5 separate regions of the Homo sapiens genome follow, and all the other regions are linked to region 1. Evidence: promoter capture Hi-C in 16 types of primary human blood cells and fetal thymus (Javierre and others, 2016). All regions are on one chromosome and are shown on one strand. The core of a region is centred on a gene start or on the middle of the fragment in contact, and the rest is flanking DNA. Distances in the headings are between cores, read along the strand shown.

Region 1 (4,716 bases), core at 1,202-3,701:
TTTGAGGACAATGAGCACAGATGACTTCCATCCTGGTCCATTACACTTTTCCCTACACCCCTGGCCTCCATCTATTACTTAAAAAGAACTTCCACAAGAATTCACTGTCAGATTTAATGGAGAAAGACCCTGAGCCTCAACGCTTGCCTCCCAATGCCTGTTAACAGGGATTGCTGCTGGTGATGAAAATACTGTTAACTTTTGTGGCACTAGCAGGTGTCAGAGAGTGGAGGAAGCTATGAGACTCCACAATACAGAACTTATGAAAAGAAGAGGTTTGATTCCCTAATAAAGGATATATTGCCCCAAATCCTCTATGAAACCAAATGCTATGGAAATCTACTTGGGCCAACTTTTCCTGTAATCTGTAGTTCCCCAAAGTTTATAAAGAAATAAAAGTGTAACTTTTAAAATATGAGGTCTTGTACAAGGTAAAGAATATTATTTTATCCACATCTACATTTCCAAATGCCCTAACACATTTGTAACTTGGCTGATGTGGTTTTGTTTTTGTTTTGCTTTGTTTTGTTTGTTTGTTTTGGGTTTTTTTTTTTTCCTTTTCTTTTCTCTTTTCTCCAAACGGTCTACTATCTAGACCTGTGGCTTCTGCCACGAAGTGACGTTTGGGGTAACTGTGGCAGCCTCCAGCTGGCCCGGGTCATTTGGCCCATTTTCTTTCCAGCACTTCGGTGGCTCTGCTTCCCCGCACTCGCTCTCATCGTGCAGATGCTCAGGCTTATCACTTCGGATGCTTGCAAGAAGCTGGAGCTCTCCCAGCCTTCACCCCCGCACGACCTCTTCTGGCCACAGACTTGGGAGGGATCTGCATCCTCCCTTGGCTCGAACGCGAGTGCCAGCATCGTCCTTGCGACCTGGGCTTGCGCTCGCCTGTCCCTGGCACCCCTGGCTCCCGCAGCCGAGACGAGGGAGCTGCGGGGTCACGCCTTCTCGCTGGAGCGGCTCTTTCCCTCCCGTCAAACCCCTTCCTTACTTCTGCTAAAGACAGGCGGCCTCTCTCCTAATAAACCACACACACACACACACACACACACACACACACACACACACACACACACACACAAGTTTTGACTTGAGCTTGAGACGCACACAGCGCCGAGGATCCTCGGGTTACTGGGGGCGACACTGCTGGCCAGGCTGACCAGCGCCCTCGGGCATCCCCAAACCCCTGGATGCAACCCGTTCCCCGCGCCAGGCTAGCTGCGGGCGGCGGGGTGGGCAGCGGCAGCCAAGGGACAAGCCAGCCCGGGGACAGCGCGGAGCCACTAGGGCCGGCGGGCAGGCGGGGGATCTGCGGGACAGAATTCTCAGAGCGGACGGTGGCAAAGGGCTAAACCCACCCACACTCCCCGGGGCGCGGGACGGGACTGAACTGCGGTCACTAACAATGCAACGAAGAGGACCTTCCCTTCCCTTCGCCACTCCCCGCGCCGCCAGGCCTGAAGATACACACACTCCGGCACACCCCACACACCCATCCACTCCGCCCCAGTCCGGATCCGGGTGGCGGAGGTGGGGCGGGGGGAAGGTGAGCGGTGCCTCGCCCCGGGGTACCTGCCGGCAGCGCAACCCAGCGGCGCCCCCGCCTCGGTGAGGACAGTCGGACGCGCGGGAGGAAGAAGGCGCTCCCGACCGCGGCACAGATGCTCACGGGCTTAGCACCTGGAGAGACCCGGGGCGGCGGCGGCGCGCGGTGGCAGCGCGAGAAGTCCCCGCCGCGACCCTCTCCCCGCCGCACAACTTTGCGCTGTCGGCGCCGCCCTAGCGCCTGCCCAGCTTCCTTACCCAAGTACTGCCGCAGGTCGAGCAGGAAGCGAGGGGGTCCCCCGCTGAGCTGATAGAGGAGGGAGCCCAGGCAGAAGACCAGCAGGGTGGCCATGCAGAAGCCGTAGTCCCGGAGGGAGAAGCGCAGGAAAGGCAGCAGGGGCACCCGACGCTTCCAGCTGCCCAGGCCCGGAGGGGCGCCCCCCATAGGGGCCCCATGGGGCCAGGGATCCGCGCCGCCGCCGGGATGCTGCTGCTTCTTCTTCATCGCCTGCTCCGCTGCCTCCCACAGCCTGCCCGTGCCAGGAAAAGGTCACCCATCCGCCGCGAGGAGGAGAGCCCGGCTGGCCGGCTGCACATGGGGAGGGCCGCGCGGAGGGCAGCCGGGTGGGGGCGGGGAGGGGCCGAAGTTGCCGGGCTCAGGAGACTTTCTTCGGCATGGTCCCCGCCGCCGCGGCCCGAGCGGCCGAGGTGTCCGGCCCCGGTTCGGGGCGCTGCCCGTGACGGGGCGCCGCGCCCGTCCGGCGCCCGCTAGCGTCCCCACGCCCCGCGCCCCGCCGCGCCTCGGGCTCGCTTGCGGCCGCCGGGGCTCGCCTCCAGCGCCAGCGTGGACCCCCCGGCTTTGTGTCTGTAGGTCTCGGCGTGTTTTGTCCCGGTTCAGGCTTCTCTAAAAAACGGCAGGGAGGAACAGGAGGCGGACACCATCCCCTCGCTCCACCTCCTTGACAGGGGTTTTCCTCCTTCTCCTCCCCTTTCTCCCTCCGGCGCTCCGCAGCACTCTCCTCCCTCTCCCCTCCCTCTCCGCTCGGGTCTCGGGATTTCGCTCGGGTGTCACGTTACTGCTTCTGCTGGGGGCGGAGGGGGGGAGGCGGCGATTATTCGCAACAAGGAAGAAAGTTTCTGGGTGTTTTCTTTTTTTTTCCTTCCCCCGTTCTTTACAATCTGGATGCGGTTCCTGCGCCACCAGCGACCTCTTGGGGGCCCCGCTGACTTCCCTCTTGTAAACAGTCACCGGCAGGAAGAAGCACGACTGACTTTACTATTTACATTTTTTTCAGTTCAGAAAGTTGATTCTCCTTATATACCCCGTGCGAGCTGCTTACCCAAGGCTGATAAAAGGTACTAGAATACAGGCTCAAGACTTTGCTGAAATGGGAAAAGAGCAAGCGGTGCGAGTTATGGTCAAACACGCCCCAGAGGGCCAGGCGCAGCGCCTGAACTCCCGGGTAGGGTAGCCGAAGAGGACGCTCTGTTCTTGCTTTTCCTGGTCCTACAACTGCTCCACCTCGCAGTGCCCAGAGAGGCAAGTGGGGGGTGCATAGCGGACTCTAGGAGGTCATTGCCCTGCAGACATGAAGGGGAAAGAGCCCAGTCCGCCTATACGCTGATTTCATTGCTGCCTCTCTTCCCTCCACGGGAAAGCCTCTGGACCTGAAAGAACCTCCTGGGGCAGAAAAGGCTCAATCCTAGACATAGATCCTCTGATGGGGTGGTTGATCCACGGAAGGGCTGCTCTGATCAGCCACACTTTAAGTAAGAATACTATATCACTATTTATAGAAGCTGTAGCACCTGAGGGCTGTGTGACTCACCCGAGGTCCCAAAGCTAGTAGTAGGAGTTGGGTTGGGAGTTGCACTCAAATCTATTTGACCCTCAGACCCACTATACTAACCACTGCACAGCAGTACTTCCCAGCCAGAGCCCTTTTCCTTCACGTCCCATAGGAGGATGAGATTTAATTCATTTAGTTCAGGCCACATTGAGAAATGGAAACCTCAGTTTCTGGTGCCTATCATTTCTGGCTCCCTACTCATTTGTATATTCCAGTAATGAACAATTGGATTTAAGAAGGAACCAGGAGCCAAGAACCTCTATGATTCTAAGACTAGGCTCCTGAAAACCTTCATCAAGTTAGGCATCTGAAGAATATTCTGTGGAAAATTACAAAATATTATCCTAGACAAAGAACTTACTCGTTAAGAATATGTCTTAACCTCAGCTACTCAGGAGGCTGAGGCAGGAGAATCGTGTGAACCCGGGAGGCGGAGGTTGCAGTGAGTCGAGATCGCGCCATTGCACTCCAGCCTGGGCGACAGTGCGAGACACCGTCTCAAAAAAAAAAAAAAAGAAAGAAAAGAAAAGAAAGAAAGAAAGAATGAATATGTCTTAACCATGTTCATATATGAATGTCTCTGGTTCATGATTTGAAACATATATCATGAGCTAGAGAGATGTGTAGATGAGGTGACAGGTGCTGCACACACACAGAGACACACGTACACACACACAACTCTACTGTCCAATTTTACATTGTCCTAGCCCACTTTCTAAGGGATGAGAAGGCTGTTTTGGGGCCCCAAGAGAAAAGAAAATATTTTGTTCTGTGACAGAAAACCCTGAATAGAGTGTTAATCATTTGCTTTACATTTATCTCATGAATCAGGGTTTTATTTGGATTAATATGCACATTTTAGAAATGTGACTTCCCCTAAGAGAATTGAGTAGATCAGTCATTGCCCATTAATGTGAATTACTTTAATCAGTACAATGAGTAGCCCAGAACAGACTCCCAATTAATAACGTTTGAGCTTAAGAAGAGGGACTAGGAGACAGAAGGAGCAAAGCAGTGTTCATAATGTTTCAGGGACCGCCTTCCACAAACTGGACCTGTATCTGAGGCCTGGCCCTGTAATCTGAACACTCGCTGGATATAAAATAGTGTGCAAGACCCTCTGTGTTCACAAGTCCCACCCCCAGGAAGTTCAGAGACTTTTCTCACAGCATGCTGTGGGAAATACCCCAATTTTTTCTCCTAAGGAAAGGAATCTGAGGAACAGGGAGATGGAGCAGGAAGAAAGGAAACAAACATTTGAGAAAATAAGTAAATATGAGAATAAATGTTGTTTTAAAAAACGATGAAAAAGTTGCAAGGA
Region 2 (4,716 bases), core at 1,483-3,982, 340 kb before region 1:
GGCAACACCTTTGGATGCCAGCCAGCAGCAAGATATCAGGAAAGGAAACATGCTCTTCAGTATACATTGGGGAACTGGAGGGTTTCACACCTGAAGAAGAGGGCAGATGAATGAAGAGGGTGAGAAGAAAGGAAAGAGAAAAAGGGCCAGGCAGGTGAGGGGCCAACCATCCAAGTGAAGGCTTGTTTTATGTGCTGTAAAGCCTGTCTTTGTTTATTATCTTTTTTTTGAGACAGTCTTCCTCTGTTGCCCAGGCTAGAGTGCAGTGGCATGATCTCGGCTCACTGCAACCTCCGCCTCGCAGGTTCAAGCAATTCTCCCTGCCTCAGCCTCCCGAGTAGCTGGGATTACAGGCACCCGCTACCACACCTGGCTAACTTTTGTATATTTAGTAGAGATGGGGTTTTGCCATGTTGGCCAGGCTGATCTTGAACTCCTGACCTCAAATGATCTGCCTGCCTTGGCCTCCCAATGTGCTGAGATTACAGGCGTGAGCGAACATGCATTGCCTGTCTTTGTTTATTCTCTATTCCCTACTTGCCCTCCCCCAAACCTTGAATCCAAAGAAGCAGGAACCAAAGGGCGTAGAGGCCACAAAAAGATAAAGCTCTCTAGAAAACACAAGAACCCTAAGATGCATCTTGAGGTTCCTCAGGCTACGGAACTGGAATTCGTGGTGGGGCAGAAGCCCATGTGGCCTGGCTCTCCAAGGGGCCAGAGCCCCTTGATGGCTTCTGAGTAAGCCATGGCTGAAAGCTAAGTTCTCAGTGAGGTCTTGAAGGCCTGAACAATATTTATTTTATTTTATTTTACTATTTTTTTTGAGATGGGGTCTCTCTATGTTGCTCAGGGTGGTCCTGAACTCCTGGGCTCAAGCTCTCCTCCCACCTCAGCCTCCCAAGTAGCTGGGACCACTGATGTGAGCCGTTGCACCTGAAATTTTATTTAAAGTGTTTTTATTTTAAACTTTAAGCCTTAAAAGAAAGAATGAAGCTGAAAATTCCATAAACATGACCATAATCAAAATTACAGCTTATTGTATTAGTGCTATGAACTTTCTCAAATGTATAGTTTTCTTTGGTCTTTCTTTACCATAGTCTTGTCAAAAGAAAACACTAGTATTAGTCATATATTCCTATTGGGAAACTGAGGCATAAAAGATGAACAATAAAGCCATGGTTTCGAGCCCGGGTCTCCTGACAGACAGTCCAGGGGGTTTTCCTAAGGAGATGCTGGGAAAAGCCTTTGTTCTCAGAGCTCTATTTTCCTCTCAGATGAGGTAGCTGCAGAGTTCAATTTGAATTCTGAGCAAATTAATATTTGGAATAGTATCTCAGCATATCCCAAGGAGGAGGTTAAATCATTTTGTCCCTAACTTAATGTCCGACTCTCAAACCCAGAGCCTTAGCTTTTTCCTTAAAAACCTGCCTGTCATTTGCCTGCAGGAGGGAAACAGGGAGGGCTGTGATCAAACCTAACTCTCTTTACATTTGCAGCCGCATGTTACACTCTGATATCAATCTTGCAGCTGGAAAGGTCTATATAAGAAATAGCCACGGCCAAATTCTCTGTTTTTTGGCAAACCTTACTCCATCTGTCTTGATAGCCGACAGGCAAATCAGTTTTATTCTAAATCAAAATGATGGGTGTCCTAGCAGTTCCTGGCCAGGCCAAGGAGAACTGAGGATGGGAGGATGCAGAGGGCCCCTCTCCCCCTTAACTCTCCTCTTCAGGTATCTTCTTTAGCCAGGTGAGATCAGGTTTAAATTAGACTCTCTAACAGGGAGGAAGAGGACAAGACTCCACAAAACCCAGGCCTGAGCAGAGTTTGTGATTCAAAAGAGGTGAGCCTTCACACTGGGGAGCAGGGTACTGAGAGTGAGGCCTTCTCTCTCCCCATGTCTCCAAACACCACACATCTAGTCTTGACGGCCAAAAATCCTCACCAGAAGAAAGTGCTAGCATTTATTATGCCTTAATGTATCTGTCTCAGTTCCTTCTCACAATTACCTGTGAAGTACATATGCCTCTTTCACAGAAGACAGATCCTAGGTCTCAGGAACCTGAAGTTACCTGCCCTCGTTAATAGGTGGCAGGATTGATATTTGAACTGTGTTACTACAAAGCCCGTATTCTTCTCCACTCTTCCATCCCCTGGTTCCCCAAAGCCTGCCTGTGAGAAAAGAACAATGAATGACTGTTTTCTTAAATACAAAATCACATCTTTTTAAATTTGGAGATTATGGTCTTAGTTTTTTAATGTGAAAATGTCTATTCTTTGCCCCAAATCATGGTGACGGTAGATAGTAATTCCCTTCTCTCCTCTTCCTTTTTTTGCTTCATATTTTTACTTGACCAATGGGGAAAGGAAGCTGACAGTCCTATTTTGGTTCCATGTTTCTATTAATTTTTTTTTCTTGGTTCATAAATCAAAAGTCTGGGACCCCTGCTTTACACAGAGTAACTCATCACAGCGAAAGAATAGCATAGCGACTGGAACGCAGGGCCGCAGCCGTGTCCTAGGTAACATGCTGATCATTCGATTTAGGATTTACTAACTGACACTGTACAATTGGTTCGAGTTTGGTGATAAGCTTTAAGTACGACTACTAGGGACTTCTTAGTCAAAGGTCATCTCTTCTCTAATCTGAAGCTTCTTCTTCCTTTAAGATTCCCACTTTCCTTCCTGGTTGTGCCCGTATATCTGGGTTCTAGTTTCTTAACTCAATAGAATGTGTTAATCAGCTAATATTCTTCTGAACTCATTTTTATTCTGTTCTATACACAGTTATTTTTCTAGGTGGAAGCTTGAACATATTTTTTCTATATTAAATAGTCTCATGATTTTTACAAATGGTATGAAATTGCTACAGGCCATATTAAATATTACAATGCCCTTAAACTTGAACAAAGCCAGTCTGGGACAGACAGTAAGTCCACAGCCTGACAGGCAGCACCCCCTTGCTGACTGTACATTCCGTTGCGTTAATCAGCCGTGGGACAGAGCCACTGCTGATGCCGCTCCTCTTTTGAACACCGTCACCTGTGGGCTCAGGGCAGCTGCAGACCCTCCAGTCCCGGGAGCCACATCTTCAGACACAGCTCTGTGTCTGCGCCATACCAGTTTCAGGGCCTCCGGAGTGTCTCTCAGCTCTAAGTCCTGCAATTTCCTTTATGGATGCAGTAAATCATTCCACACACCATGGAGCAGAGGAACAGTCTGAATTATTAGACCTACCTGCTTGGCTCCTTTAGAGGGGGATTCTTATATTGAATGATTTTCCCTCTTCACTTATTATTATTTTTTAGATTTTTTAAATGTTTTTTTGAGACGGAGTCGCCCTCTGTCGCCCAGGCTGGAGTGCAATGGCGCGATCTCGGCTCACTGCAACCTCCGCCTACTGGGTTAAGTGATTCTCCTGCCTCAGCCTCCCAGAGTAGCTGGGACTACAGGGGCACACCACCACACTCAGCTAATTATTTTTGTATTTTTTAGTAGAGATGAGGTTTCACCACGTTGGCCAGGCTGGTCTCGAACTCTTGACCTCAGGTGATCCTCTCGCCTTGGTCTCCCAAAGTGCTGGGATTACAGGCGTGAGCCATGTGAAATGTTTACATAAAACACCCATAGAGCGTTCCTTAGAAGCTGACCAGGGGGATTCTGGTCATGTTGGGCCACTAGTGTTGGTTTCCCAGAGGTGGCAAGTCTCTGTCACTTTCTTTCTCTATCTCTCCTGTTTACTCTGCCCTCCTGTTTCTCACTCCAAGTTCTCCGCCTTCCTTTGCTCAGTGAAAAAGAATTAGTTCACTGCATTCATTCAGCCACTCACCCATTGGCTCATTTGTTCACTCCTTCATTCTGAGTGCTGCATTTAAGTGCCGTGGACACTGCAGTGAACAAGACAAGGTGTTGCCCTCACAGAGGGTGTGGTCTGGGGGGTGAGACAATGGTTAAATGAGCATTTACAATGTAGCGTGGTGAGCGCTACCCTTGGGGGGAGCACCAAGGGGCTTCTGGAGGCACTGAAGCAACAGAGATGACGCAAAGCGGCTCAAGACCTGAGAAAGCGCTGTTCAAGTGGCAGCTGCAGCTTGTTCACCCTCAGCCTGGGCTCCCTGGGGCAACACAGACCCAAGGTGAGCTGAAATTGTACCCGCAGTTCTTCTTGAGCAAGAAAGGGTTTTCCTGGTGGAATTCCACAACTGAGTTGGAAAAATAAAGATTAAGATACAAGCGTGTGCCGAGGGACAGAGAACGTGACTTCTGTGAAGTGGAGAGAAGAGAGCTATGCTGCACAAAGTGGAAAGGAAACTTTGTCACCGTTAAATAAATGTAACCAGAACAGACTCAAGGAGGGCTCTGAAGGGTGGAGTCCACTGAAGTTGTGTACAATTCATTATGGAAGCGAGACTCGAATAATAGCTGACTTAGTTTAATTTATATAGGTGAATCAATAATTTGCCTGAGAGATCCAATTTTGGGTTTAAATGATCTGAATAGTCTTGCCCTAAAATCAAGCTCTGTCCAGGAGCCCTAGTGATTGAGGCAGTGGAACAGCTCTGGGCTAAACTGGTTGGGTCAGCTCTATCCACGCCTTTGTAAGCTGTTTTAACCATTTCACAAGAGTGAGGCATGATGTGAGGTTAAGGGAGCTTTCCTGTGATGGGAGGCTGGGGAACGGGACGGCTCACCCACAAGCTAAGGGTCTGGCTTGA
Region 3 (4,716 bases), core at 858-3,357, 320 kb before region 1:
CCACCATGCCTGGCCCAGAACTTCATTCCTTTTAAGGTTGAATAACATTCCATTGTATAGATAGAACGCAATTTGTTTATCCTTTCATCCTTGGAGAGACACTTGGGTTGTTTCCATCTTTTGCTTATTATAATGAACATTTGCATTCTAGTATCTGAGTCCCTGTTTCCACTTATTTTGGGTATATGCCTAGGAGCAGAATTGCTGGGTCATGCGGTAATTCTAAGTTTAATGTTTTGAAGAACTGCCAAATTATTTTCCACAGTGTTTGCACCATTTTACATTCCTACCAGCAATGTGTGAAGGTTCCAATTTCTTCGAATTCTCTCCTACGATTGTTATTTTCCTCCCTTTTTAAAATTGTAGCCATCCCAGTAAGTGTGGAGTGGTATCTCACTGTGGTTTTGATTTGCATTTCCCTAATGACTCCTGTAGTGATGCTGATGCTAATGGTTTCCCTAATTTCTAATGACCTTTTCATGTGCTTTTTGACAAGCATGTGTCCAACAAATGCTGTTTGTTTGTATATCTTCTTTAGAGAAATGTCTATTCAAGTCCTTTGCCCATTTTTGAAGTGGGGTTTTTTTTTGTTTGCTTTTGTTTGTTTTTATTGTTGAGTTGAAGGAGTTATTTACATATTTTAGATAATCTGCACATATATCAGGTATATAATTTACAAATATTTTCTTCCATTCCACAGGCTGTCTTTTCACTCTGTTGATAGTGTTCTTTGATGCATAAAAGTTTTTAATTTTAATGAAGACTATTTTATCCATTTTTCTCATATTGCCTGACTTTTGGTGTCACATTAAAAAAAATTGCCAAATCCAAGGTTGACATATAGAAGTTTTTAATTGTAATGGAGACCATTTTATCTGTTTTCTTCTTATTGCCTGTCTTTTGGTGTCATATTAAAGAAGCCATTGCCAAATCCAAGGTCATGAAGATTTGCCCTCACATTTTCTTTTATAATCTTGCTTTTGACTAAAATTTTTGTCAACAAATTTGAATAGGTATATAATTTACTAAATACAGTTCCAAATGGCTATTTCCAAAATCAGACTCATCTGAAAGGACATAGACTTCCCAATTTTTAGGATATTTGAGGTACCTTCTGAAGCCTTCAGTAGCAATTCTAAAGAAGGAATTTGAAAAATTCTCTATGTAGAGGCTAAGAAGGGTAGTGGGGGATTGGGGACAGGTGGGGATGGTTCATAGGTACAAAAAAAATTGAAAAATGAATAAGACCTATTATTTGATAGCACAACAGGGTGACTATAGCCAATAATAATTTAATTGTACATTTAAAAATAACTAAAAGAGCCGGGTATGGTGGCTCATGCCTGTAATCCCAGCACTTTGGGAGGACGAGGCAGGTGGATCACGAGGCCAAGAGATCGAGACCATCCAGGCCAACATGGTGAAACCCTGTCTCTACTAAAAATACACAAATTAGCTGGGCGTGGTGGCATGCACCTGTAGTCCCAGCTACTCGGGAGCCTGAGGCAGGAGAATTGCTTGAACCCGGGAGGCAGAGGTTGCAGTGAGCTGAGATTGCGCCACTGCACTCCAGCCTGGCGACAGAGCGAGACTCTGTCTAAAATTAATAATAATAATAATAAAATAACTAAAAGAGCATAACTGGATTGTTTGTAATGCAAAGGATAAATGCTTGAGGGGATGGATACCCCATTCTCCATGATGAGATTATTATGCATTGCATGCCTGTATCAAAACATCTCATGTACCCCATTAGGTATTAATTAAAATAAAAAATAAATAAATTCTCTATGTGGCCAACAGCCTCATTGAATAAGGGTATTACTTTTCAAACTGACTCTTTTGAAAGTCCTTTGCCAGGTTGGGTCCTTTGCACAGGGGAGCCTAGATCCTTGTAAATAGATAACATGGTCTTCATTGAAATTAAAAACATAACACACATTGAACACTCTAGAATTTCTGTTAAATAACTTGGCATAGACTCTTCTGAAATGGGTTCCTAACAGAACATTTTATAATATCTGTCTTCTCTGAAGATATGAACTCTAGCTAATCTGGGGCGGGTCATTGTTCACAGGTCTTAGGTGTTCCTTTTTGTTTTTTAAAACAGAGCTAAAAAATCTTATGAAAGACAGACAAGAAATAAAGAGTTTTAAGTCAAACATTGAGAGGCAGAGGAAAAATAATTCTCTCATTGAAAGCCTCCTTCAATCCCTTCCTCTTAGAGCACTATACATTGTGTAGGGTTTTGTTATCTGATACACAAAAAAGTAAGACTCCTGTGATTTAAAATAAATTCATTACTTAAATTATTTGGCCCAACCTGGCAAAGGATCCAAGGGGATAAGCAAAAGGGAGCCTAGATCCTTGTAAAGAAGTAATTTGGAAATCTGTTCTATTTCACAGCCTCAAAGCTCTTTGTCGTAAGGTTGAAACAGTAATTTCCTAAAAACAATGGACAGCAAGTGTAATCATATAAATACCTTGACTACAAAACTATCTGAGAAATACCAATCACATTTTACTAGTCTTCAATCACTTGCAAAATGTTGGTCTATATAATGGATTGAGTTGATTTGCTATATAAATGGTTATTAATTTCAGGCCAGAAAAACTTTGGGAATATTCTTTAAAGTTACAGCATAATGGGTTTATACATTTCTTTCTTTGATTACGATTAGGTGACTGGGTCAACTGCCATAAGGTTACTCCTAGTTCATGACAATAAAACTCTCTTCCCTGAATGCCTTCCTCTATGGTTAGGATGGGGGAGTTGGTGGATGGGCAGAGCAGGTAAATAACTCTGTCAAAAGTGACATTATATCCTTCCGAATAGACATTTCTCAAAATAAGACATACAAATGGCCAAGAGGTATATGAAAAAACTCAACATGCTAATCATCAAGGAAATGCAAATCAAAACCACAATGAGCTATCATCTTACTCCAGTTAGAATAGCTATTATTAAAAGCCAATAAATAACAGATGCTGGTGAGGATGTGGAGAAAAGGGAACTCTTATACACTGTTGGTGGGAATGCCAATTAGAACAGCCACTATGGTAAACAGTATGGAGAGTTCTCAAAAAACTAAAAATAGAACTACCATGATCCAGCAACCCTTCTACTATGTATCTATCCAAAGGAAATGAAATCAACATATCAAAGGGATACCTGCACTTGCATGCTCACGTGTTTACTGTAGTAATATTCGCAGTGGTAAAGATATGGAATCAACCTGTGTCCATCAATGAATGAATGAAGAAAATGTGGTATTATACACAATGGAATACTATTTGGCCATAAAAAAGAAAGAAATCATGTCATTTGCATCAACATGGATGGAACTGGAGGTCATCATGTTAAATGAAATAATCTAGGCACAGAAAGACAAAGATCGTGTATTTTCACTCATATATGGGAGCTAAAGAAGTTGACCACAAGGAGGGAGTAGGATGATACATACCAGAGGCTGGGAAGGATGTCTGGGTTGGAGAGCGGGCTGAAGAGAGGTTGGTTAATGGGTACAAATGTACAGTTATATAGAAGATGTAAGTTCTCATGCTCCATAGCAGAGTAGGGTGACTATAGTTAGCAACAATGTATTGTATGTTTCAAAGTAGCTAGAAAAAAAAATTCAAATGTTCCTAACACATAGAAATGATAAATACTCAAGGTGATGGATACCCTAAACACCCTGATTTGATCATTGCACATTCTATGCATGGAAAAAAATATCATACATATCCCATAAATATGTAAAATATTATACATCAATAAAATGTGATATTGTGTCCTTCAAGTACAAGTGAAAAGAACCAGGACATATTTGCACGATTAGTTAACTGATATGGTGCGAGATGGTGACAGTCCTGGCTGAGCCTAATGCTTTGTGGTATATTTTTATAGTAACAGCTACAGTTAATGGGAACTAATGTGTAGCAAGCACTGAGCTAAGCACTTGTACACACAATCATACTTAATCCTCACAATAACCCCTTGATGGAAGAGCCATTTTATACATGAGGAAACTGAGGCCAAGGCTATAACTCATTCAAGGTCATGCAGCCAGAAAGTGGCAGAGGTAGGAGGCTCCTCATGACAATCAGCTGCTGTGCTTTTGCTGTGTTGTTTCTTGGTGTGGACAGGTGAGAGGGCTATTACTGCTTCTCACACCTTTCTTCACAGTGTGGTAGAGCATAATGGTCAATGTCCAGGCCTAGAGCCTACTACTCCTCCTGCTGACTGAGGCACCCAAACTTAACAACCGATCTCACAGGAAACTGGCAGGTGTTTTGGAGGGAATGGCTAATGGCTTTATAGTTTGGGAGGAGAAAAGGGCCGATTAAAAAAAAATTGGGCACGATCATCTCTGGGTCCAATACTCAGAGTCAGTGATGAAAACCACCCCAACAACCACTATTTGCAGAGTTCCACCTGAGAGGTAAAACTGCGTCCTGGTGGTTTATTTAGATTAAACTTGTAATTTTGTGTTTCCAGTAGGAAACATTCTATCCCAGGCAGAAATTGACCTAGTATTTACCATGTTCGGAAAACGACAGACTTCTGGTGATAACCAGCATCTAAAATCCCAGTGCACTCCATCGACTCTATGACTGGAAAGTACTGGCTCTTATGATTTCACTCAGAGCCCCCTACATTGACATATCTTATCCAACTTTTATACAGTAATGAGAGGTCTTTAATAAGATTGATAT
Region 4 (4,716 bases), core at 1,477-3,976, 310 kb before region 1:
TGCAAATGCAGCCTGGGAAAAAAATTAAAACATTTTAATTTTTCTGACATGAGAGAAGAAACAGAGAAGAGCACTGACATGCATTAGGTTTTAGGTCAACAACAGGCTATAAATGAAGGTAGTTGCGATGACTTCTTGAGCTGAACTTTCATGGCCAATGGCTGTGAGAAACTGCAGAAGCTTCTGATGTCAGATGGAAGAGAAGGGACTGATTGTCAGGTTAGACTTTTGATGCAGCACAAGCATGAAATTGTGGTGCAATGCACTGACCATTAACCACCAGCCTTCCCCTTTGATAAGACATGGGTGGGAGTGATAAAGGGGAAATGAAAAAGAAACAATCAGCCAATGCTAGAAAGGCCATTATGTGAATTAGAAGCAGGTAAGAAAGAGGTGCTAGTGTTACTAAGAAACGTGCTCAAAGGTATCATTAGGTTCCGTTAGGATTGGTTCACTTTGGAAACTGCATTAGAGACAGGTGGGGGAGGGGACAGGAGAAACGGGTAACTTGAATGACATTCAAAGCATTCTTAAAAAGTGTGTTCAATGAATGGAAAATCAAAGATGTTTGAAAGAGAAAAGTCAACAAATGGAAAAGCTGTAACCCATTCCATTTTAGTTTAGTTTTATTGGGGCATGAAATGAAATTTCATAATGTTCTAAAAACAACAACTTAACTGCATAAAACTGAATAAGTGAACCGGCATTAAATCCATACTGTATTTTTTAAAATCTCATTTTGATATAATAATAGTAACTGGTTAGTTAGGTCATAGTCCTCTTCCTCAAGTCACGCACAGTTAAAGAAATATTTCTAAAAATTTCTAATTGCTCCTACATTCTAGCAAAACCATACATCGACTTGCTGGTTGATTTATGACTTTCTAGTAACCTTTACTCTCAAATGGCTTCTACCAAATGATTTATTTACTTGGTCTATGCTGAGGTAACCTCCTGGCTGGGCTGACTGCCGTCCTTTCAGCTCGAAGTGTAAAGGATTGAGTCCCCTCACTAAGACATTTCTTGAGTTTCTGTGAGAGCTGTGGGTTCTCATGCGATAAACCATGAGTCTTAGGTTCAATTTTGAAATGTCTCTCTTTCAGATTGCTTGAGCCGGGGAGGTCTAGGCTGCAGTGAGCTGTGACTGCACCACTGTACTCCAGTCTGGGCAACAGAGTGAGACCTTGTCCAAAACAAACAATAAACAAACACCCAGAACAAATAAAAAATGTCTCTCCTTCCTCGTCATTTCTCTTTGGAGAAAAAAGAAAATCTTTGACAATTTCTGACCCACTGAACAATGTAAAGTGGCAAAGTTTCACACTTTTGCCAAAGGCTTCTAATTTCAAGCCTTTTTCTGGTCCACGGTGGTGCTTCACCTCACTCTTGTCTTTCCTGCCCAGTTTCCTCTCTTAGATTACAAACTTAATCTACTAAATGCCTGCCCCCCGACAATAGCAGAGTTTTATAAGATCTGTATAAAGTCATTAGTTTTCCCATTAAGCATCGGTGTCCCCCAACTCCAGCCTGTAAGATGCACACAGTATCTGGAACCACAGAAGATTGCTAAGACAATGTTAGGTGTCTGACACCTTTTAGCTATAAGTGCAAGATGATGTGGTTGAACATCAAAGGCTGTGGAACATGCAACCAGGAATCAGCATATCCTCATTGAAAACTTTTACACCATTTCTACCAAAAAAGATTAAATTCTAATTGAATGCTACTTACTCATCACTTCTTGAGTTTTACATGTGACAATAAAATGAAGGCCTACTGGTTACTGGTTGGCTAGAAGGGAAAGCAAGTGAAAGCTCTTTGGCTCTTCTTTGGGTAGATTTAATTCTACCGCACCCCCCTCCCTTTCTGAACATTTACAAAACCCTCAAGTACTTTTCTTTCCCTCCTTCTCCATTTTTTTCCCACGAGGTCCAAAGTCCCAGGGAGGGAGCTGCTGGGCATGGGGGGATGGGGTGAGAATAGGGTAGGGAACCACAGCTGCTCTCAAATTGTGCTGGTGTCTTGGACAGGGGTGACAGATGGTGGCAGGAGAGCCATTATTCCCACCCTGCCAAGCTCATGACAGCCATTTCACAGAGGTCACGGCCAGGCTCCACCTGACAATACTTGTGCCAATGTTTCTAAGCTTCTGTGACCAACTGTCCAAAAAGGCACTAGATATGAGCCCCAATTCTTGTACTTTTTAGCTGAGAGAATGCTTTGAAGGCTTTTCAACCATCAGGCTTCTGTGCATTCCCTGAGGTATTTAGACCCGGTGCTTCGATAAATTAGTGGTTGCAACTGAGCACATAATTCCTTATATCCACTTAGAATGTTTATGAGATAATTAGTTCTCAATTTCATACAGCACCATCGGTTCACCTCCTGATCAGACAGATACATGAGTGGCTATTTTTTTGGAAGTATGGCAAACATAGTTGAAGTCAGTTGACATTAGGTTATACCTCATAGAGCATATAGTAAATAAGTCATATCCATAATTGTCATAGAAAAAACACACAACACATAAGTTTGGGTTTATAGCCACAAAGAGGAACATAGAAGACAGGGAAAAATATGACCCTGAACATGAGCATGGAATGTTTTCAAACTTATTGATATTCACAGTCTTTATTCATAGCATCTTGATGGGATTCATGAGTAACAAAGGGCTTTGTGGAAATATCTGAAGGCCAATAATTCTTTTTAACAGACTAACAAGACCAAATTACTATTAAATTGATTTCAGTAGTTGGTAACCGTACTTATTTCTGGTAGACTACATATTTCAATAAACAACTTTAAAAACAAATGTCACTGAATGTCAATTCACTATAAATTTAACAGTGAATATGTCATAAAATATTTTTATATCTAAACAACTAAAATAATAATAGGACCCTAAAAAGACTTTTAAAAAGTGTTCATTAATCAAGTTTTGTTCTATATGATAAATGATGTACTCTAAGAATTTCTAAAACTCCAATAGATACTTGCTGTAACTAAACTGGAAAGGGTTCCCATTTTTGCTTTGCTATTTTAGAAAAATAAGGAGTATTCCTTGGATTGTTTGCTTTCTTAAATTCCACTCTCCGATTCATTAAAACCCTTATGAAAACCAAAGTTGCTGACATGACTGAAACAAATGGCTTTACTGTTAACCAGATTGAGTCTTTGCAAGCACTTTATTAAAGCGATTTTAGTAATTCCAACTAGTAAAGTCTTCCCCCACCAACAAAAAAATAAAACAAAGTAACACATTTAGAATATCAATGAACATCACCTCAACAGAACCACTAAGCTTTCCAGAAACACTGTGTTCTTGAGAATTCAGCAGAATAACATTTCATAGAATCCTACTTTTCTAGCTACCCCATCTCCCTCAGATAATCATGTTTTAGATTTTGCCCTTTTCAGAGAGAGAGAGAGAGAGAGAGACCAGTTAAGAGCTTACGAGCACGGGGTTGCAAGTCACCTGGGCCTGGGTTGAATGTTCAATCACTTGAGTGCTGCTAGCGACCAGCTCAGTAACATAGAAGCGTTATGAATCATCTCTAAGTTGGTGGTTTCCTTATCTGTACAATGGACATAATAATAGTATCTTCCTCACAGGGTTGTTCTTAGGATTAAATGAAATAGTACATCTAAAGGACTTAACAAGATTCCTGAGACACAAGAAGCTCCCAATGAGTGTTAAATATAATAACAACAACTATTAATATTATGACTGTTATCCTCAAAATATATTCCCTTGAAACATCAGTATTCTGCCACTGAAATAGAAAAATGCTAATCTCCCCAAATGAAACAATTAATTTCAATTTAGTTGAAACTTAATGTGTTAATGATACTTTATGAAATTACAGACATCAAGACTTTGAGATGCTCTGCTCCTATAAAATTTTAAGGTCTGGTGGTTCAGTGAAAGTAAAGATTCATATCCCTTACAGTATACATGTGCATTTATAGATCAACTTTCCCCACCTATACATTCATTAGGTGCATAAAATTCCAAAGCACTTCTTGATCATGAATACCGTATAATCTATAATTATTTAATTCTGTAAAAATGTCAAAAATATATTTTGGATGTTTCACATATTTTCCCCTCCCTAATAGAGTTCCATTTGGGTAGTACTATCTCTTTTCTATTCATTTTTTATCTTCTACTATATCTTCTTGCCTGTATTAGGTAAATAATAAACATTCAAAAATCATTCATGACTGCAGCATCTGAAACACTTTAATAAAAAAGGAAGAAAAGTAAAGTTTTGTCAGACACCCCCCCATCGCCACTGCAATAGCTGGATGGTTTAGGGCAAAGAGAAAATGCAGTCAGATACAAAGTGGAGATACAAAGGGGAAACCATAGCCTGCTGAGATCAGGAACTGTGCCATTCAATCCTCTGCTCAATTTCCTGGGCTATGTAGTTTAGGCAAAACCAATTCAGGTTTGCTTTCTTACGGAATGACATGCTATTTAACTAAGTAATGAAATGCACAGAGGATCCACTTAAGATCTTGGGTCAAAAGACCCAATGATGCCCCTGAATTGGTGTTAGAAAAATCAGGACCATTTGCAGGCCCGTCACTTCTCTGTATTGGCCTTTCCACTTTTTCCAGAATGCTCGCCACCACTTGGCAGAGGCGCCCATGGGGTTCAGAGGGCCTGCCTGACTTTCTACATCATGTCTGGTCAGCTGCATCTTTCACAGG
Region 5 (4,716 bases), core at 1,291-3,790, 270 kb before region 1:
AAGGAAAACAGCCTAATTTGTAAAAATCAGAGAGCTGATTTGTAGGCCAGCTCTCTGAACTGACACTAAGGCGAGTGAGAAAAGCCCGGGAGTGGGGCTCCAGGCCTGGCTGTCATTTATCATTTGGGGGAATTGGGCAAGCCAGGGTTCTCTTTTGAAAAATGGTAAAAATCACCCTTACCTAGTTCAAAGCATTGTTGTAAAGACTGTGCAAGGTGATATGATGAAAGAGTTATAAAAATCATTGTGTGTGTATCAAGGTGTGGTGTCATGAGTCACCTCTCCAAGATTAGAAAATTCAAAAATCTGAAAAATACTACACGATTTAAAAAATACTTTAGGGAGTTCAAATCATGTTTCCTGTTATAAAGATATTCACTGTGATCAGCAAGTGAGTCATCCAGCCCCAAATCTTCCCAATACCTGAAGCACTAAATGTTAACCAGGAGGTATTTGTTATTGAGGCAAGGGTCGGGGGCAGGGGAGAGGCCACCTGGACTCAGGGGGCTTATGGTGAAGTCAAAAACCAACACTCCTAGTTCTATAATTTGGACTATAAGCAAACTCTTTTGTTATGGCAAATGAAACAAGACAGGAATAACAACAATACGCCTAAAAACGAAGCAGAAATCATAGCATAAGCAAAAAGGTACAATGAATGCGTTGCCGGTGTAGAAGTAGCAGTTCTCCTTTGGCCTTTTCAGAAACACAAGGACCCTCTAGTTAATGTTTCCTTTGGGGAATAATGTCACTTCTGATAGCAGGGGTTGATTTCCTACCAAGCAAATATAATGCTTCATTGTTGCTGCCATTTCTTCTCCAGGCTATGACATTTGTCTAGCACAGTAGATTTCAACTATAGCTACGCCAGAAGCATCTGGGGAGGCTGCTACACACGAGACTATGATTGGGTGGGGGTTCTTAACAAGTATACAGGGGTGCTGATGCAGGACCTGGGCAGATCACACCCTGGGGGTCCTGACTATCTGAGTAAGTCACTCTCTAAAGAAGGTTGTGCCTTCAAGTAAGGTTGACAGGTGATCATTATAAAACACTTTCTTCTCTGCCTACTAAGTATATCCACTATGGGATTGAGGTGTGGGCTTCCAGTGTCTCAGACCCAGTGACACATGCTACGAGGGCAGGTTGTTGGTTAAGTCAGTCACTGTACAGGAGCAGGCTGGGTGTTCGCTCCTGGTCTTCACGATCACATTTTATGTGACATTTTGTCATTTTATCCAAAGAGAAAGACAAACAACATGGGATGAGTAGTGACAAGTATGTTTTAGGTATAAACAAGGGTTTGGTTCCAGTTACAAAGCTTTATATGGTGGTCTCCTGAGGCCTCTACAGACCCTGATTTTTAAATTTCATTATTTATAGGACATTTGGAGTCTCAAATATTATCTTGAAAGATTAATAGTAAACAGGAACTGAATTCCAGAAGGTTGAGAGACTAGGGATACAAAAGATTCCCACCGAGTACCAGGCTGGTGGGGTTCTTGCCCTTGTTGTGCGTACGTGCATGCCATGACCCTGCTTTAGCCCTTACCTGCATCTGGGATGCTGTCCACAAAAGTACGGAATGATGTAAAATAACCTGGGGTTGGAGCACTCGGGATAGTTTTCAAGAATACACTCATTGATATCCTAGAAGAGAAAATACAGCAGTCAGATGTCTTGTAGTCTCTGCAAGGCTCTATCAAATGCCACACAGTTTAAGTAAAATTCATGATTGAATTACACAGGCACGCCTTGAGAAGATGAAGAGAATTCACAGATTTCATGAGAAAACTTATTTTTTGCCTCCCAGCATCCTGCTCCACTGGCCAGGCACACACAGGGCTGGGCCATTTTAGAGAGTGCATGCTCTGTTGAGTAAACTGCATCTCTGCACTTCCTGGTGGCTCCGAGTCTTAAGTTTGGTCACAGGCCTTGGGAGAACAGTGGTACCCACTGTGCTTCGTGGTGGCGCCACCAGTTGCCAGCCAATTAGTAGGTATACAGTTGGCAATTAATAAATGTTTGTTGCATGAATTTAGGGCTTCTCTGTGTATCCATGCATCCAACAACTAAGTACCTACAATAGTCTCATAAGAGTTTGCAAATTTTAGAGGAGCTGTAAAATCACTTCTAACACTATATTAGCTTAAAAAGTAGCAGGATGTTTATATACAGACACCCTCTCACTTTCAAAGGCAACAGTTGTGACGTCCAGGTTTTCCATTTCTCTTATATGAGGTTGGACATGGTGTTTCTGAGGGCGTTACCAGAGCTTGAAATGGCTTGGTGGGGGTAAGCAGAAGGGCTCAAAACCAACTTTTATCAAGGTAGATCATATTAGAGATTCTAAATAAGACATGCCTCATTCTCAGGTATTTCTAAGGAGAAAAGATAACTCAATCTACAAATAAACCAAACAGCTGTAGGATGTTTTTCCAGAGACTATACTGGCAAGGCAGATTAAGACTGGACACAACTCCCAAATATGGTTGATGAAATTATGAGTCGGTAGAAGCTACTGTATCTGATATACATGTGTGGGTGTAGGTGTTTAGGTGTGGGTGTTTAGCTAGTAACAATTTTTTTAGTTCAAATTGGGAATGAGAGAAATATAATTTATGCTTTTTCTTAAAAACAATAATCCCCTCATACTTCTTCAGTTTATATGCCAATTAAGTAAATTACACAATTACAATAACAAATTCAACGGAAATAAACAGAATCTGCAAAAAACACAATTGAGAGTACTCAAGCACTTGAGTTTACCATGAGAGGCGGAGGTGCAGTTTCCAGGGAGGAACATATGAGAAGTGAATAGGGGGGTGCATATGTCTGTCCAGCCATGTGGTGAGGGTGATTAAGAGCATCTCATTGTGTATGAAAACCCATTAAAATGCAAGACACTAGACCTGAAATACCTTTCTAAGAAGAGTTTGACACTGACAGATGTGTGTGTGTGTGTGTGTGTGTGTGTGTGTGTGTGTGTATATATGGATATTCATTGCTGCAATGAGTTTATTTATTACAACAAAATATGGCAGAATTTACATGTTCACGAACGGGGGATTGGTTTTAAGAGAAATTATGGTACATTCACACACTGAAATACTGGATACCTGGAAAAAATGAGAAGGATCTGTGTGTGCTATCCTGAAAAGTCTTGGATAAATTTTCAAGTGAATGAAAGTATAGACTACAGGACAATATAAACATGTAGGACAATATAAAAATCAACATGTTTACATAAACACAAAAGGATCTGGAAGGAGACACAGCACACGATTGAAAGCAGTTTTTTCTGGTGGTTGGCATAAAGGAAGATGAGAATATACTGAATTTTTCCTTATTCCTTTTTTGAAGTGTTAGCTTTTATTACAATGTACGCATCTTACTTTTTTTGTTTTTTTTTTTGAGACAGAGTCTTGCTGTCCCCCAGGCTGGACTGCAGTGGCGTGATCTCGGCTCACTGGAAGCTCCACCTCCCGGGTTCACGCCATTCTCCTGCCTCAGCCTCCCGAGTAGCTGGGACTACAGGTGCCCGCCACCACACCCGGCTAATTTTTTGTATTTTTAGTAGAGATGGGGTTTCACCGTGTTAGCCACGATAGTCTCCATCTCCTGACCTCATGATCCGCCCGCCTCGGCCTCCCAAAGAGCTGGGATTACAGGCGTGAGCCACTGTGCCCGGCTGCATCTTACATTTATTGTGAGAAAACTGTACAGAGATTTACACACTGTGAAACAAACCAAAGCTTGTGCGGGCGGGTGCCTGTGCTTTGCCTTGAGGATGCTCTGAGCCCCCTGCCCTGCTCACATTTGAGGGTGTCCTCTGGTAGTTGGCCTCCCCTTGGAACCTGAGCCTTTAGTCCGAGGGACCCAATAACCCTGGTGGCCTCCCTCTGCAGCAGTGGCAACAGGGAGGGGGCCAGGAGCTGGGTGAGAAGCAGAGCCTAGGGTGATTCTGGCCAGGACAGTGTTCATCTGCTGAGGTCGAGATTTCACAAAGAAGGACGGAGTAAAGTGATGGGGAACATCCAAAGAACTGTCACATACGCAGTCAGCCCCCCAGAGTCCTGCATTAACAGGAGGAGCAGGGCATCAGAGACCGCCAGAGCCTCCTACAGAGGCTCTCATGGCACCTGCTGCTTCTCCAGAGCTGCCCTTGAGCAAGTACTTGTGTGCTTATTTGTTTAGGTTGTAGGTCCCTCAGAGCACAGACTGTTCACTGCATCTCCAGTGCTCAGCACCCTGCCTGGACTAAAGCAGGAGTGCAATAGATACTGAATGAGTGAGTGAATAAATGGCAGAAGGAGAGAGACAAGGCACACTGCTCCAGAGCAAGAAAGGAAGCAGACACCTCTTCCATTTGCTGACCCTGCCAGGGTTTTGTCCTCAGCAACCCCGGGCTCATAGGAGTAGACAGAGGGCATCAGCTGGCTGGTGAGGGGAGGGCGGAGGAGGCACTGGGGCCTAAGAAGGCCACTTCCCTATTGGAATCCACAAATAACCTCACGAGGTCAATTTATAGGAAGACATAAATTCCTAGTTTTAAAAGTGCAGTTAACAATTCTTTTCTTAGACCAAGACGCATCCTGGGGGATTTCAAAGAGTTCCATTTGAGCCCATTAGGTTGATGAACGGCATTCATCACAACCCATCTATGGTGATGCTATAGGAGGATATAAATAAAGATGACTGGACCGGAAGATCCAG

The links. Contacts are between HindIII fragments. The CHiCAGO score rates a contact against its expected background, and 5 or more counts as called.
Region 2: a fragment that was not itself captured here is called in contact with the fragment with the promoter of UST in region 1 in 1 of 17 cell types (total B cells); the score reaches 6.1 in total B cells.
Region 3: a contact is called between a fragment that was not itself captured here and the fragment with the promoter of UST in region 1, in 1 of 17 cell types (total B cells). The highest score is 5.7, in total B cells.
Region 4: a fragment that was not itself captured here is called in contact with the fragment with the promoter of UST in region 1 in 1 of 17 cell types (naive B cells); the score reaches 7.2 in naive B cells.
Region 5: a contact is called between a fragment that was not itself captured here and the fragment with the promoter of UST in region 1, in 4 of 17 cell types (total B cells, naive B cells, M2 macrophages and 1 more). The highest score is 7.5, in total B cells.

Annotation. Positions count from the first base shown.
Region 1 is chr6:148,744,765-148,749,480 of GRCh38, reverse strand. It overlaps UST (uronyl 2-sulfotransferase), which reads right to left and starts at 2,451. Exons shown (of 8, transcript NM_005715.3): 1 at 1,804-2,451. The coding sequence starts at 2,050. It overlaps LOC124901425 (a long non-coding RNA gene), which reads left to right and starts at 3,882. Exons shown (of 2, transcript XR_007059806.1): 1 at 3,882-4,716. RefSeq lists enhancers at 313-812, 813-1,314, 2,623-2,702, 2,763-2,822 and silencers at 1,493-1,662, 1,963-2,052. The HindIII fragment of the contact is 11,485 bases long and covers 1-4,716 here.
Region 2 is chr6:149,087,967-149,092,682 of GRCh38, reverse strand. No RefSeq gene overlaps it. Among named protein-coding and RNA genes, the nearest start is that of UST-AS2, 58 kb to the right of the region's middle. The HindIII fragment of the contact is 154 bases long and covers 2,656-2,809 here.
Region 3 is chr6:149,067,671-149,072,386 of GRCh38, reverse strand. All of the region lies in intron 7 of UST (uronyl 2-sulfotransferase), which reads right to left. Among named protein-coding and RNA genes, the nearest start is that of UST-AS2, 37 kb to the right of the region's middle. The HindIII fragment of the contact is 7,123 bases long and covers 1-4,716 here.
Region 4 is chr6:149,051,315-149,056,030 of GRCh38, reverse strand. The region is part of intron 7 of UST (uronyl 2-sulfotransferase); the gene reads right to left. Among named protein-coding and RNA genes, the nearest start is that of UST-AS2, 21 kb to the right of the region's middle. RefSeq lists an enhancer at 1,497-1,616. The HindIII fragment of the contact is 1,155 bases long and covers 2,149-3,303 here.
Region 5 is chr6:149,016,073-149,020,788 of GRCh38, reverse strand. It overlaps UST (uronyl 2-sulfotransferase), which reads right to left. Exons shown (of 8, transcript NM_005715.3): 6 at 1,553-1,650. Among named protein-coding and RNA genes, the nearest start is that of UST-AS2, 14 kb to the left of the region's middle. The HindIII fragment of the contact is 2,434 bases long and covers 1,324-3,757 here.